Linked DNA regions of Homo sapiens: region 2 is linked to region 1. The links are contacts of gene promoters, found by promoter capture Hi-C in blood cells and fetal thymus (Javierre and others, 2016). All regions are on one chromosome and are shown on one strand. The core of a region is centred on a gene start or on the middle of the fragment in contact, and the rest is flanking DNA. Distances in the headings are between cores, read along the strand shown. Region 1 holds the start of SLC3A1 (solute carrier family 3 member 1). Region 2 has its middle 36 kb from the start of LRPPRC.

Evidence for each region. Contacts are between HindIII fragments. The CHiCAGO score rates a contact against its expected background, and 5 or more counts as called.
Region 2: a fragment that was not itself captured here is called in contact with the fragment with the promoter of SLC3A1 in region 1 in 3 of 17 cell types (M2 macrophages, M0 macrophages and M1 macrophages); the score reaches 7.6 in M2 macrophages.

What each region holds. Positions count from the first base shown.
Region 1 is chr2:44,274,131-44,276,830 of GRCh38, reverse strand. SLC3A1 (solute carrier family 3 member 1) reads right to left here and starts at 1,351. Exons shown (of 10, transcript NM_000341.4): 1 at 866-1,351. The coding sequence starts at 1,295. The HindIII fragment of the contact is 21,913 bases long and covers 1-2,700 here.
Region 2 is chr2:44,030,326-44,033,064 of GRCh38, reverse strand. No RefSeq gene overlaps it. Among named protein-coding and RNA genes, the nearest start is that of LRPPRC, 36 kb to the right of the region's middle. The HindIII fragment of the contact is 164 bases long and covers 1,292-1,455 here.

The sequences.
Region 1 (2,700 bases), core at 102-2,601:
ATCTGGCATAATTTTACTCTGAAGTATGTTCTGGTTTGAGCAATATATTGTAAGGATGTTTTACACATAACCCACCAAGAAATTAACTTAGCTTTTAAAAAATAATTTTTCACTTTTTTTTTTTTCTTTTTGGAGACGGGGTCTCCCTATGTTGCCTAAGCTGGCTGGCTGAGAGCTCCTGGGCTCAAGCGATCCTCCCACCTCAGCCTCCCAAGTAGCTGCAACTACAGTCATGCGCCACTACCCCTGGTTAATTCTTTACTTGTTTTATACTAATACGGACATGGTTTTAAACAATCCTTAATTCAAGTAATGACGAATGCATACTGCTACCCCTTTTCTACTTCCCTTCCTTTTTTAGAATTTAAACTTTAAGACTCAGCCTATACTTTTTACAGATATCACTTGATTTTTAAAAAAATATTATTTATGCTTTATTCACTAATACACTCCCAGCCACACAGCCAAACTAGCTGCTTCGTATACTGGGAAAGCAATTCCCAACTGCCACCCTGACATATTCAACTATAAAGTCCCCAGAAACAGGACATAGATTTTAGAAGGAAGGCTGCTCTAAGAAGTTAGAATTGATGACTGAACAACTGTATGTACTTAGTGGGCAATAAATTAAACAACTCGTTTGGCTCAAAGGCCTTCAGCAAATAGCCCTTCAGCTAGTAAAATAACTGCTGGGTTCTGCTGAGTGATTTTCTAAGAATATCATAAACAAGGAGCAACTTGGCATGACCAGTCATAATGGAATGTGCTTACTGAACAACCCAGGCATAATTTGGTTCTGAAGAACAAAAGAACCATAAACCAATCTCATCCTGGCACCCACCCTAAATGATCTCTGGGCATGTACCTTTCAGATCTCCGTTCCCATCCTTGTTACTGTCCTTGAAAGACCTTGGGTAGATCTGGTACATGGGCCCCTCCTGCCACCAGTCTAGGCACTTTGGAGAGAGGGCAATGATGGCTATGGTGGCCGCGATGAGCACCAGCACAGAAGCCACTGTGAGCCAGAAGAGGATCTCCCGAGGTATGCGGTAGCGGGCCTGGCCAGAGAACTGGAACAGCACCTCCTTGGGCATCCCCGCATAGGGCTGGACGCCCTTGAAGTCGGGCTCCTGGGAGCCAAGGATGCCCCTGGTGCTGTGCTTCAGGTTGTCTGTTGAGCTTCCTGGATCCGGGGTCTGCTCCAGAATGTCTTCATTATGGACAAACCCGTTGTTTGTCTGGCATCCCTTCATACTCATCTCGATGGAGTCTCTCTTGCTTTTATCTTCAGCCATGTCTCACCGACTTATGTCTTCGGAGTGCCTTCCTGCAGTAAGGGAGGTGGAAGAGTGGCTTGCTGAATGCTTGGTCTTGTTAATGAACTTTGTGTGGTTTATAAATAAACCTAGCTGGACAAAGTCCAGCCAAGGAAGAAAGGGTAAAAGTACAGAGGTTTAAAAAAAAAATCTCGGGACTGGCGCGGTGGTTCATGCCTGTAATCCCAGCACTTTGGGAGGCCGAGGCGGGCAGATCACCAAGGGCAGGAGTTTGAGACTAGCCTGGCCAACATGGCCAAACCCCGTCTCTACTAAAGGTATAAAAATTAGCCAGGCGTGGTGGTGTGCACCTGTAATCCCAGCTGCTCGGGAGGCTGAGGCAGGAGAATCGTTTGACCCCGGAAGACAGACGTTGCAGTGAGCCGAGATCGTACCACTGCACTCCAGCCTGGGCGACAAGAGCGAGAATCCATCCCACAAAAAAAAAAAAAATCTCCACTGGGCATCTTGGCTCACACCTGTAATCCCAGCAGTTTGGGAGGCTGAGGCAGGCAGGTCACCCGAGGTCAAGAGTTTAAGACCAGCCTGGCCAACATGGTGAAACCCCGTCTCTACTAAAAATACAAAAATTAGCCGGGCGTGGTGGTGCATGCCTGTAATCCCAGCTACTCAGGAGGCTGAGGCAGGAGAATCACTTGAACCCAGGAGGCAGAGGTTGCAGTGAGCTGACATCGAGCCATGGCACTCCACCCTGGGTGACAGAGGGAGACTCTGTCTCAAAAAATAAAATAAATAAATAAGAAAGAAAATAAAAATAAAATGAAACTAAAAATAAATTAAAAAATTAAAAATTGGAAACAACCCAGGTAGCTATCATCAGATGGATAGATAAACAATGTGGTTATACATATAGTGAAATATTATTCAGCTTTGAAAAGGAATGAAGGCTGGGCATGGTGGATCACGCCTGTAATCCCAACACTTTGGGAGGACAAGGCGGGTGGATCACTTGAGGTCAGGAATTGGAGACCAGCCTGGCCAACATGGCAAAACCCATCTCTATTAAAAATACAAAAATTAGGCCAGGCGCGGTGGCTCACGCCTGTAATCTCAATACTTTAGGAGGCCGAGGCCAGTGAATCACCTGAGGTTGGGAGTTCAAGACCAGCCTGACCAACATGGAGAAACCCCGTCTCTACTAAAAATACAAAATTAGCCAGGTGTGGTGGCGCATGCCTGTAGTCCCAGCTACTTGGGAGGCTGAGGCAGGAGAATCGGTTGAACCTGGAAGGCGGAGGTTGCGGTGAATGGAGATCACGCCATTGCGGTCCAGCCTGGGCAACAAGAGTGAAACTCCATCTCAAAAAAAAAAAAAAAAAAAATAGCTGGGCATGGGGACATATGCTGTAATTCCAGCTACTTG
Region 2 (2,739 bases), core at 124-2,623, 240 kb after region 1:
ATGCATGGTCCAGATTCCCCTCTAGGAGTGAAGGTCTTTTTCCCCTAGCCACTGGCAGTGCTACTGGAACTTGGCCGTCGGCTGTTAGTCCCCTAGGAAGATTGCACTTGCGTGAACAAAATTGCCTCTCCTGAGGTCACACTTCCTGCCAGGATTTTTTTTTATCAGTGTGGGGTATTAAGATCAGCCTAAGTTGGGACAACTCTGAGAGGTCATCCTAGTGCTTAAAGAGTTCCCCGTGGCATCAACTGAGGCCTTTGTTGGGATGGCATTACAACTCGACTTCTACCCAATCCCAGTTTCTTCTCCTTCTTTCTGTAAATACTGATCATGAGAGCACTCCTTAATCAATCAACTCACTGCTAAACTTCATCTCAAAATCTGACTCCTGGCAGCCTTACCCTATGACAGGAGAAGTCACGCTTTTGAGGTGGAGGTCTCTGACAGCTACTGGTCCCACAAAAACAAGTGGGAAAAGTGTGTCCACCAGGCTGTCAACTCAGCTGGCGGAGAAACTGCTGCATGTCCTAGCTCCGAATTGCTCCCACAGCCAGTGCATGCGTGTCAACAGACACTATAGGAGTATCAAGAATATTTAAAGGAGACTGGGCATGGTGATTCACGCCTATAATCCCAGCACTTTGGGAGGCCAAGGCAGGCTGATCGCTTGAGGTCAGGAGTTTGAGACCAGTCTGGCCAACAGGAAGAAATCCTGTCTCTACTAAAAATACAAAAATTAGCCGGGCGTGGTGGTGCACACCTGTAGTCCCAACTACTCAGGAGTCTGGGGCGTGAGAATCCTTTGAAGCCGGGAGGTGGAGGTTGCAGTGAACCAAGAATGTGCCACTGCACTCCAGTCTGGGCGACAGAACAAGACTCTGTCTCAAAAATAAATAAATAAATAAATATGCCGGGTGCAGTGGCTCATGCCTGTAATCCTAGCACTTTGGGAGGCTGAGGCAGGCAGACTACGAGGTCAGGAGATCAAGACCATCCTGGCTAACACGGTGAAACCCCGTCTCTACTAAAAATACAAAAATCAGCCGGGTGTGGTGGCGGGCGCCTGTAATCCCAGCTATTTGGGAGGCTGAGGCAGGAGAATCGCTTGAACCTGGGGGGTAGATTTGCAGTGAGCCGAGATCGCCACTGCACTCTAGCCTGGGCGAAAGAGCAAGACTCTGTCTCTAAATAAATAAATAAATCAATAAATAAATAAATAAATAATAAAAATATTTAAAAGAGTCTGAGGGTGGGAGGAGAGAAAGAGAGAAACTATCATAGACAAAAAGCTTGTAGCTTTAAAAATTTGTCTTTGAGTTAATCTTACCTAGTTATCCTTGGCATTTGAAGTCAAATAGACTTTAAGCAATTTCTTTATTTTGGGTTAGCTACTAAATTTTTCTGAGGTGGCTTCCTCATCTATAAAGCAGAAAGGCACAATCAGCCTCACAAGCTTGTCGTGGGTTGAAACATCAGTTGCCTAGTAGTCCCAAACCTGGCCTTTGGTAGACACTTGGTAAGAATTTATTTATCTTGTATATCCTCCATTCTCCTCATGCCATTTTCCAGATTCCAGGAAAATCACTGCTTTTCTTTTTGTTGTTGTTTTCTGATTGGCTCCATCCATCCCAATGTTTTTCTGGGGATTCTGTTTCAGGCTGAGGGTATCTGACAGTGTTTGGCCACCCATCTTCAGACTAAAGGGTCTCTCTCTAGATGGCTAGTCTCATCAATTCAGTCCTATACATTTTAGTTCTGGAGTGGGTGCACTTCATTGTAATCCCCCTGGGAACTGAGACAACCCAGCAATGTCCAAGTGTGATTATTTTCATTTTAAATCTAAGCTCTGCTCTTGGTTTCATGTGCAGAAGTCATTTCTCCCAACTAAACTGTAAGTTCTGTGAGGGCAGTTAGCATATCATCTCTTGCAACCTATAGGATCTAGCCTGGAGGAAGAATTTTTTGCCAAATTACTTGGGGTTGTGACAAAGAAACTAAGAGAATAAACCATGTTCTTAAAAATTAATATTTCCTGGAATCTTCCCAATCACTAAGTGGCAATTTCCAAGCCACTTTAGGTTTTTTTGTTATTGTTGTTTGTTTATTTTTTGAGACAGAATCTGGCTGTGTTGCCCAGGCTGGAGTGCAGTGAGGCAATCTCAGCTCACTGCAACCTCTGCCTCCTGGGTGATTCTTATGATCTGGGAAGTCTGGCGAATAGCAGAGTGGACCCTGTTATGGATTTAAATAGAAAGGACCTTGCCACTGGAGACTGGATCCTGACATTTCTTGAAGGTCATCAGAATTTGTATTTATCACAAATTCTTGAAGCCAAGGAACTAATTCTAAACTTATATCTCAGACCTATATCCTACTAATTCTCCCTATCCCCTCTCTCTGCTTTGTTTTTCTATCACCATCTGACGTACTATTCGCTTATTTGTCAATAAAGATAGGAATTTTGTTTTGTTAACTGCTGTGTCTTTATCAGGACTGTGGCAGGTATGGTGTATAGTATAGCAAATGCAAAAAAAAAAATAGTTGTCATATTAATTAATGTTTCTCCAGTTGGGAAATGGCTTCTGATATCCTGACTCTGTTACCCACTACCCACTTCCATTGAAATGCCTCATGGGAACTTTAAACTTACGTCCAAGATTGAGCTCATCATTTCTCCCATCTCAGCCCAAACCGTGTCTTCTTCCAGTGTTCCATGGCTTGGAAAATAGACTCACCAAC